3 separate regions of the Homo sapiens genome follow, and regions 2 and 3 are each linked to region 1. The links are contacts of gene promoters, found by promoter capture Hi-C in human tissues and cell types (Jung and others, 2019). All regions are on one chromosome and are shown on one strand. The core of a region is centred on a gene start or on the middle of the fragment in contact, and the rest is flanking DNA. Distances in the headings are between cores, read along the strand shown.

Region 1 (3,191 bases), core at 641-3,140:
GATCGTGCCACTGCACTCCAGCCTGGGCAACAGAGCGAGACTCCATCTCAAAAAAACAAAACAAACACACACAAAAAACCAAAAATAAATAAATAAAATGATCACTTCTGAATACTGATCTAACTAGGGGTTGCAGGGTGGGCTGATATAGGGAGAAACTGGAGAGCAAGGAGATCACTAAGGTCCCTACATGTCCAGAACCAAGATAGAGGTCTTGAACTAGGATGGTGGCAGTTAGAACAACAACAACAAAAAGTCAATTCCAGGCTGAGTGCAGTGGCTCATGCCTGTAATCCCAACGCTTTGGGAGGCTGAGGTGGGAGTTAGAAAGCAGCCTGGGCAACACTGCAAGACCTCCTCTCTAAAAAAAAAAAAAAAAAAAAGTTAGCCAGGTGTGGTGGTGCCCACCTGTAGTCCCAGCAACTCAGAAGGCTGAGGTGGGAAGATTGCTTGAGCCCCAGGAGTTCAAGCTTGCCGTGAGCTACGATTGTGCCACTGCACTCCAGCCTGAGCAAGACCTTGTCTCCAAAAAAAGGTCAATTCCACTGACTTTTCTAAGGTGTACACCATCAAGGGGCAGCTCCATCTCCAGGCCATTGGCTCATGAGACATTCTGTAGTCAGAAGGCTAGGGCAGATTGCTTTGAGCAAGCCCCCATGGTGGTTCTCACTCCTACTTCTTTGGGTATATGCCCCTCTGTTTAAAAATAAAGTTAATATGCATTTAAAAAAAAAAAGGAGAAAAAGGTCAGTTCCAGAAACTGTGTGAATAAAGCATTTTACTTGCTTTTTCTATTAATCTATAACATATGTTGATTTTTTAAAAAGAATATAAGAGCTATGCAAATTGGAGCTTCAAGACAACTTCCCATCTCCCTAGGAGGAGATGGCTGCCCTAAACCCCCCTACATAGAAATCATCCCACTGCTTGGGCTTAAACTTGATGTTGGGGAAATGAAAAATCCAAGCTAAGGCCGAAGCCTGGGGCCTGGGCGACCAGCAGAATGAGGACCACTGGTCAGTTTCAGGCTGAGGTGCGTCTTCCAGGGGACAATCTCTAGCTGGCCCTTAAACATTCAGACTTCAAGCTCTATTTACAGCATAAAGGTGTTTCAAAAGACGTGATACAAATAACTGCAAATGCTCTGCGATGTGTTAAGCACTGTTTGAAATTCGTCTAATTTAAGATTTTTTTTTCTGACGTAACGGTTAGATTCACGTTTCTTTTTTTTTAAGTACAGTTCTACTGTATTGTAACTGAGTTAGCTTGCTTTAAGCCGATTTGTTAAGGAAAGGATTCACCTTGGTCAGTAACAAAAAAGGTGGGAAAAAAGCAAGGAGAAAGGAAGCAGCCTGGGGGAAAGAGACCTTAGCCAGGGGGGCGGTTTCGGGACTACGAAGGGTCGGGGCGGACGGACTCGAGGGCCGGCCACGTGGAAGGCCGCTCAGGACTTCTGTAGGAGAGGACACCGCCCCAGGCTGACTGAAAGTAAAGGGCAGCGGACCCAGCGGCGGAGCCACTGGCCTTGCCCCGACCCCGCATGGCCCGAAGGAGGACACCCACCCCCGCAACGACACAAAGACTCCAACTACAGGAGGTGGAGAAAGCGCGTGCGCCACGGAACGCGCGTGCGCGCTGCGGTCAGCGCCGCGGCCTGAGGCGTAGCGGGAGGGGGACCGCGAAAGGGCAGCGCCGAGAGGAACGAGCCGGGAGACGCCGGACGGCCGAGCGGCAGGGCGCTCGCGCGCGCCCACTAGTGGCCGGAGGAGAAGGCTCCCGCGGAGGCCGCGCTGCCCGCCCCCTCCCCTGGGGAGGCTCGCGTTCCCGCTGCTCGCGCCTGCGCCGCCCGCCGGCCTCAGGAACGCGCCCTCTTCGCCGGCGCGCGCCCTCGCAGTCACCGCCACCCACCAGCTCCGGCACCAACAGCAGCGCCGCTGCCACCGCCCACCTTCTGCCGCCGCCACCACAGCCACCTTCTCCTCCTCCGCTGTCCTCTCCCGTCCTCGCCTCTGTCGACTATCAGGTAAGCGCCGCGGCTCCGAAATCTGCCTCGCCGTCCGCCTCTGTGCACCCCTGCGCCGCCGCCCCTCGCCCTCCCTCTCCGCAGACTGGGGCTTCGTGCGCCGGGCATCGGTCGGGGCCACCGCAGGGCCCCTCCCTGCCTCCCCTGCTCGGGGGCTGGGGCCAGGGCGGCCTGGAAAGGGACCTGAGCAAGGGATGCACGCACGCGTGAGTGCGCGCGTGTGTGTGTGCTGGAGGGTCTTCACCACCAGATTCGCGCAGACCCCAGGTGGAGGCTGTGCCGGCAGGGTGGGGCGCGGCGGCGGTGACTTGGGGGAGGGGGCTGCCCTTCACTCTCGACTGCAGCCTTTTGCCGCAATGGGCGTGTGTGTGTGTGTGTGTGTGTGTGTGTGTGTGTGTGTGTGTGGAGGGGTCCGATAACGACCCCCGAAACCGAATCTGAAATCCGCTGTCCCTGCCGCTGTTCGCCATCAGCTCTAAGAAAGACGTGGATCGGGTTCTAGAAAAGATGACTCCCTGCACGCCCCTCCCTGCACCTCCCGAGCAGTGATTCCGACAGGGCCTTCACTGCCCCTGATTTTAGGCGGGGGCCGGCCCCCTCCCCTTTTCCTCCTTCAGAAACCCGTAGGGGACATTTGGGGGCTGGGAGAAATCGAGGAGATGGGGAGGGGTCCACGCGCTGTCACTTTAGTTGCCCTTCCCCCTGCGCACGCCTGGCACAGAGACGCGAGCAGCGCCGTGCCTGAGAACAGTGCGCGGATCCCACTGTGCACGCTCGCAAAGGCAGGGTTCACCTGGCCTGGCGATGTGGACGGACTCGGCGGCCGCTGGTCCCCGTTCGCGGGCACGCACAGCCGCAGCCACGCACGGATGGGCGCGGGGCTGCAGGTGCATCTCGGGGCGGATTTCTTTCTCAGCGCTCGGAGCGCAGGGCGCCCGGCGTGTGCGCTCCCTGCCGGAGGCGCGGGGCTGGCGCGCAGGGCTCGCCCCTCACTGCGGCAGTGGGTGTGGACCCTGGTGGGCGAGGAAGGGGGAGGATAGGCTGTGCCTCCTCCCACTCCCGCCCCCAGCCCCCCTTTTTTTCCCCCTCGGAACGCGAGGTGCCATCTTTTTTCGGCGTGTCACGTCTTTACGGTGCCATGCCAAACCGGGTGGCCGGGCTTCATAGG
Region 2 (3,001 bases), core at 1-2,500, 150 kb after region 1:
CATTTTCTCAGGCGCACTTTTTCCGGGTGTTTTGTAATGCTCACTTCTTCCTCCTGCTGGGAAGTTGCTGTAGCCTCATGTGCAGGGTTTGGCAAGCTCTCTCAAAATACCACAGATCTTCATGGCCAGCAGGTGGTGCTCTTATTAAGCCCCTTTTATAAAGTTAACAAGCTTTTCTCCAAGGTTATATATCCTCTACATTTCCAACTAAGGATTAACTGGATTTGATTACTTGAGGTGATAAAACAAAGCCCCCTTCCTGCTGGAATACTAACAGGTTATTATACCCTAGTCTCTCCACCTTCCACAGCCAGGCGTAGAGTTGGCTATAACACAGTCCCTCAATTTCTATCACCCACACACACTTAATGAGAGGGGCTGAGGTACAGTCAAGGTGCGAGGCACAACTCCAGGATGAAAAGCAGCAGTTGGTTGTTATTCTAACAAACTACACAAACTGGTTAGGAAACAGCACTAAAACTACTTAAAAAAATATCTGTCCTATGGGGCCAGAAAACAGCTAAGTATCACATTCAAACAATTTTCTGCCTTTATGTCTGGTATAAATGTAACTATATGGAATCAATGAATCAAAATCATTTTTAACCTTGTTATGAAAAAAAAAAAAGTTGGAAATCCTGCCACTTTAAAACATCTTCTAGAGAAGAGGTTGTAAGGGTGGCCCAGTAGTAAAATCTACCACACAAATGTTTGACCTACACAGTCGTATGCCAAGCTGCTAGCCTTCACTGTTATTTACTGCTATACAATGATGTACAGGGAATCCCAAGACTTCAGGGGGTGTGTTATTTACACGGGATATTATGTGAATGGTGCCCTTTGGAGTTGGCTATCTCTGCACCCATGGGAATCTTCTGATTTCCAAATGGACTGCATTCTGAATGTGGCAGTTGTTTGGGTCAAAGCAAAATTATTCCAACAGGAATAATATTAGACATGGTAATCAGGTCTTCAGGTCAACCAACTGAGGTGTAATTAATCTACAGGCAAATACAGTAGTTAATAGAGCCTACATGTAAAAATATATATATATCTCCACAGTCTCATAAGGAGAATTTAATGACCAACTTTTTCGTCCAAACCCCAGGGCCATAGCTAGAAGCTCTTCGTGTGTGTGTGAGACATAGACAGAAAAACAAATAGGATTAGATGCAGGAAAATAAAAACCATAAAGACCAGAAAAGGGGGAGTGTTCCCTATCTTTCTTTCCATTCCCCCTCATTGCTGCCTGTAGTTGCTCTGAATGATGGTGTGGGAGGTGTAAGGTATGCGGCAGGGCAGCATTCATGTCAGATCTATAGTGTCCTGCAGTCAGCAGGACAGAAAATGTTCAAGGGAAATGGAACCTCTTAGTAGAGATGCTGAATGATGGAACAGGAGCTGAGAGACACACAGTCTGGGTATATCTGAGGGTGGGGGAGGTTATTTGCAACTGTATGTGGTAATGCTGTTGACAAAGAAATGACTGTTCTGTTTAGCAGGTGATATCCAATGAGTGTGCTTAAGTGTCCGGGCTTCCTGTCCTTCTTCAAGTATGAGACTATACAATTCAACACAGTAATTCAGAGAGTAACCCAACAAACATTCCTAAGTCTTCCTAGTGGCGCTGTCTGTAGCCAGAATCCCAAAAAGGGTAAAAATCTGACTCCTCTTAATAATCTGTCTGGAAAGGAACTTGAAATATAGTAAAAGGAAGGACAGGCATCAGATAATCTGGGTCTGAACTGTGAAGGCATTCAAACCCATTAGCCATTTAGTTTTAGATAAGCCACAACCTTACCAAGCCTGTTCCTTGAGCACTAACACTGAAGTAACACCTTACAAAATTTCTGGGCCGGGCATGGTGGCTCATGCCTATAATCCCAGCACTTTAGGAAGCCAAGATGGGTAGATCGCTTGGGCCCAAGAGTTTGAGACCAGCATGGGCAACACGGGGAAACCTCTTCTCTACTAAAAATGCAAAAAATTAGCCAGGCATGGTGGTGTGCACCTGTAGTCCCAGCTACCCACTGAAGTGGGAGAATCACCTGATCCTGGGAGGCCGATGCTGCAATGAGCCAAAAACCACACCACTGCATTCTAGCCTGAGTGACAGAGTGAGACTCTGTCAAAAAAAAAAAAAAAAAAAAAAAAAAAAGCCAGGTGCGGTGGCTCATGCTTGTAATCCCAGCACTTTGGGAGGCCAAGACGGGTGGATCACGAGGTCAGGAGTTCAAGACCCTCCTGGCCAATATGGTGAAACCCCCATCTCTACTAAAAGTACAAAAATTAGCCGGGCGTGGTGGCGCGTGCCTGTAGTCCCAGCTACTCAGGAGGCTGAGGCAGGAGAATTGCTTGAACTTGGGAGGCGGAGGTTGCAGTGACCCGAGATTGCACGACTGCACTCCAGCCTGGGTGACAGAGCAAAACTGTCTCAAAAGTAAAAAAAAAAAAAAAAAAAGAATTTTGAAAGCAGCATATGAGACAAATATGAGAAGAGTACTACAAACTTTAAAATGCTATACAAATAGTAACTGCAGTTACATGGGCTACATAAATCCAATGGCAAGGGAAGGTAAAAGTCAGTGACTCTGGAATCTGAAGCACAGAGGAAAATGTTTTAGTGTTTTCCACTCATTGTGTTCAAGTTTATTTATTGCTCCACCAGCTCCTGACTATCCATGTGTTCCAGGTTTTCTGTTTCCTTTCTCTTACAAGAAATCACATGGCCACAGGAATATTACACCACATCCTTATCACAGCTAGGGGGTTTTGGTAACAAAAGCCAAAAATCCCGGTATCTACTGGATTTAGGTGGCCAGAAATGCAATCATTTGAAGAACAGATGCAGAACAGGGGATTATAGTTATCTAATGTTTGATCAACTGTCAATTAGAAGGATTCTCTCTAGGACAAGGGTTAGCAATGATTGTTTTTATAAATAAACTTTTGTTGCAACACAATCAGGTTCATTTGTTCACATATTGTCTATGGCTGCTTT
Region 3 (3,290 bases), core at 690-3,189, 190 kb before region 1:
GGTAATGGAAGTATCATCACTTTGTAAATTATAAAGAGTGGCCTGTATGGCTCTCATCCTGACTCCACTGTGGTGTATGGGCTGACCCTGAGTTGCAGTGTGATCAGATGGGGTTGGGGTTAGTAGAGAAGGTTTTGTGGAGGAAGTGCGTCTTGGGATGGGCTCTAGATATGCAGGGAACCGCACTGGCAAAGGCCCAGAGGAACAAGGAGTTTGGGGTGGGAGACAGGCAGGGCCTCTGTGGAGATTGTTCTGATGCTAATTCAGAGGCACCAGGGACTAGGGAAGCTTCTGCCTTTCGTGGCCACAATTCTCAGGCTAGTTGCCCGGGTGTGAGCTATAGTCTGCTCAAGCCGTGCTTGTTACAGGGAACTGCGACCCACTGCGCTGCCTTGAGTGAAGGGGTGTTGCTGATTGTCAAAGATGACAAACAGGCAGCCTCAAGGCTGTGGAATGGGCTTTTGGAGGCTGGAGCTGGATGAGCAGGGAGCCCTTCTCCTGGGCCCCGTCAGCCTACTCACTTTTCATAAGGTCCAACTTAGCGGCCACTGTCTTTTCCCCCTGTTTGGTTTCAGTCTCCATTCCTGACTATGGATTTCTGTGTGTCTCAATGTTCTCAAAAGAGAAAGCATTTCTAATGCCCTTGAATCAGCCTATGGATGGGAGAGTCACTTGCTCACCTCTCATCCATCTCCTGTAGCCTAGAGGGGACAAAGTCGCATGGTACATGACGGGAGGGCTTCCCTCTTCAGTGCCAGCAGAAAGGAGTATGGATCTAGGAAGGCAGTTGGGCAGGGAAGGCCAAATGGCTAGGACTCAGGCACAAGTCCTAAGACCATCCTGCAGACCAGGGCTCCCAGTGTGGATTCAGGGAGAAAAATAAAAGGGCTGTTTCCACAGTGACCCTGCCTGAACTTTAGGCTGTATCTTATTTTTTTAAATTTCTTTTTCTCTTTTCCCCCCTCATTCTTGCTGTCATCTTATAAGCTTTATCTTTGTGGTCTCTTCACTCCAGCCCGACTCACCCACTCACCAGTGCCTACTTCTGCTCATGTCCTCTCCCTGGCCAACTCATTTCCATTGATTCAAATCCTATCCATCCTTCCAAGCTCAGCTCTGCCCCATCTCCTGCCGGGGTACTGCCTTGATCACTCCAGCCCTTCCATCTCCCCTCCTCTCTTCCTCTCATTCTTATGTCTCTTCCTGGTTATTTTCAGCTTCCCTGACCCTTCATGTAAACTGTCTGGTGATAGATGGCCTTTGTAGGGTCGTCTTGTATTGCCACTTATTTCTGGTAATTTTTCATGCCTTGCTTTCCAATTGGTCAACAGGACAAACATCACACACCCCCTCAGGTCTTTCCTGGGCACATAAAGATCCTTGTAGACATGCACAGCCATTTGCCTTTGGGGCAAGAAGGCTTTAACCACCATCAGGTCAAATCTGAGAGATGAGGAAACAGAAGTCTAGAGAAGAGGAGTATTTTGCCCCAAATCACATAGTCAAGGTCAGCGTGGAATTCAGGTCTCTTGGCTCTTTACCCAGGCAAGAACTATGAGAAGCAGCTTTGGCTGTGAAGTTGGTACCATAGTGTTGCAAAGTACACCAGAGCCAAGGTGGCCAGTGGCAGTTGGGGAGGTCTCATGCATCAGAGAGTGAGTGGCTGCCCACCTGGGTGGATGCATCCCCTGCCTCCTTGCAGGGTCCCAGAGCCTCATATTCTGCCAGGAGCCATCTGTTCCTTTGGAAACTGCCATTTCCCCCACTCAGTTTCCTCTTTTAAAATGCAAACTCCTAAGAGATGGGCTCAAGGGCACAGGCTGGCAGGGAACTCTGGCTGGGTCCCCCTTGGAAGGAGAGGGGGAGTGGTGGCAGAGGAGCCTTACAACTTCACCGTGTCCACTGCCAAAGTGCGCATTTCCTGATTGGCAGGTGGACCAAATAAAAGCCAGCCCAGGGATCTGGGGAGAATAAATCTCAATGAAATGTTTTTTATCAGGGTTCTGCTGCTCTACAAGGAAGATGTGCAGGTTAAGCTGGACAAATAGCAGGCTGAGTGCGGCTGGGCTTTTCCCAGTCTCCAGGGAGGACTCAGGATTGAGCTGCAGGGCCTGGTGATCATCCCAGCCTCAAGGCAAGGGCACAGCTGCGATCCTGCTTGATCTCACCCTGCTTTGTCTGCTTCCTGTGGAGAGCTCCCGCCTTGAGAGTGGGAAGGAATGTGTGATCATCCCCATTGTACAGAAGGGAAGAGTGAGACCCACAGTGACTAAGTGAGTACAGAGAGAATGAGGAAGCAGAAAAGGAATTGGATTGGGGTCTGGGCTTCTGGTCCAGGCTCCACCCTAACCTGCTGTGTGATTTTGTCCAAACCTTTTATCTTTTCTGGGTTTCTTCACTCGAGTGTGAACTTTGGACCAGATCAGTGACTTCCAGATCACTTTTCCTAACCACAATGGGCACATGTTAGCCCTTTCCATGGGCCCGGGCCACTTCCAGTACCCCTATAGGGGCTGTAATGCAAACCCTTATTCCTTTTCCAGAAAGATCATCAGAACAGAGAACCCTGAGAATTGCATTGCAGGGATACCCTTGCCTCTGTTCTAATTTATATAACAAATTCCAAAGCCTTTGCACTCAGTGTTTGGGAATGAATGACCTACAGGGCACCTGGGTCACTGTCTTGAGAATCTTTAGCTTTCCTGGGTTCCTCACTGAGGTGCTAAGATGCCAGGATCCTGGGCATCTGAGTGTACCCTGAGGTCTGGTCTCATCCACTGAGGCAGGAGGCAGAGCTGGGCAAGCCTGGGTGTCCAGCCTCCATGCCCCTCACTGATCAGGGGTCACTGTGGCCCCTCACTCTACCTGCCGCACCTTTCCCAGCAGATGGTAGCTGGGAAAGCAAGTCAAATGCCTGTTTCCTCCGGTGGACTTGGGCAGATCATGCTCTGAGTGCTCCCCAGCCCTTTTCCCTGGATCTCTGAGCTGGCTTTCTCCAAATCTCCACCTCCCTTTCTCTGCGTCTCCGGTGAATACTGCCACACAGGGAGCCTGCTTTACCAAGCCTTACTTGAGTCTTGAGATGCTAATAGATCCCCTGGGAATGGCAGGCTGGAGTGGAACCTGGCATGGGGAAGACAGACTGCGCCAGCTCCCACCAGAGCACGGAGCACTGCAGCTCTGGCACCACTGAGACCCCTGATCAAGGCCATTTCTACCTCTAGGTGGACAAGCCAGGCTCAGGGGCACTGCTGGATTGCCCTGTGGGGGCCTCTAGGCAGCACAAAGGG

The links. The method cuts DNA at HindIII sites, captures the fragments that hold promoters and counts their contacts. A contact is called where the count stands out against the background at its distance.
Region 2: a fragment that was not itself captured here is called in contact with the fragment with the promoter of MAPT in region 1 in 1 of the 25 tissues and cell types used here (mesendoderm cells).
Region 3: a contact is called between a fragment that was not itself captured here and the fragment with the promoter of MAPT in region 1, in 4 of the 25 tissues and cell types used here (dorsolateral prefrontal cortex, heart left ventricle, mesendoderm cells and 1 more).

Annotation. Positions count from the first base shown.
Region 1 is chr17:45,892,664-45,895,854 of GRCh38, forward strand. MAPT (microtubule associated protein tau) reads left to right here and starts at 1,891. Exons shown (of 13, transcript NM_001377265.1): 1 at 1,891-2,023. It overlaps MAPT-AS1 (MAPT antisense RNA 1), which reads right to left and starts at 2,850. Exons shown (of 2, transcript NR_024559.1): 1 at 2,817-2,850. It overlaps MAPT-IT1 (MAPT intronic transcript 1), which reads left to right and starts at 3,120. Exons shown (of 1, transcript NR_024560.1): 1 at 3,120-3,191. RefSeq lists enhancers at 1,834-2,719, 2,720-3,191. The HindIII fragment of the contact is 9,010 bases long and covers 98-3,191 here.
Region 2 is chr17:46,044,399-46,047,399 of GRCh38, forward strand. The region is part of intron 7 of KANSL1 (KAT8 regulatory NSL complex subunit 1); the gene reads right to left. Among named protein-coding and RNA genes, the nearest start is that of STH, 47 kb to the left of the region's middle. The HindIII fragment of the contact is 4,503 bases long and covers 1-3,001 here.
Region 3 is chr17:45,706,811-45,710,100 of GRCh38, forward strand. The region is part of intron 3 of LINC02210-CRHR1 (LINC02210-CRHR1 readthrough); the gene reads left to right. Among named protein-coding and RNA genes, the nearest start is that of CRHR1, 76 kb to the right of the region's middle. The HindIII fragment of the contact is 5,336 bases long and covers 1-3,290 here.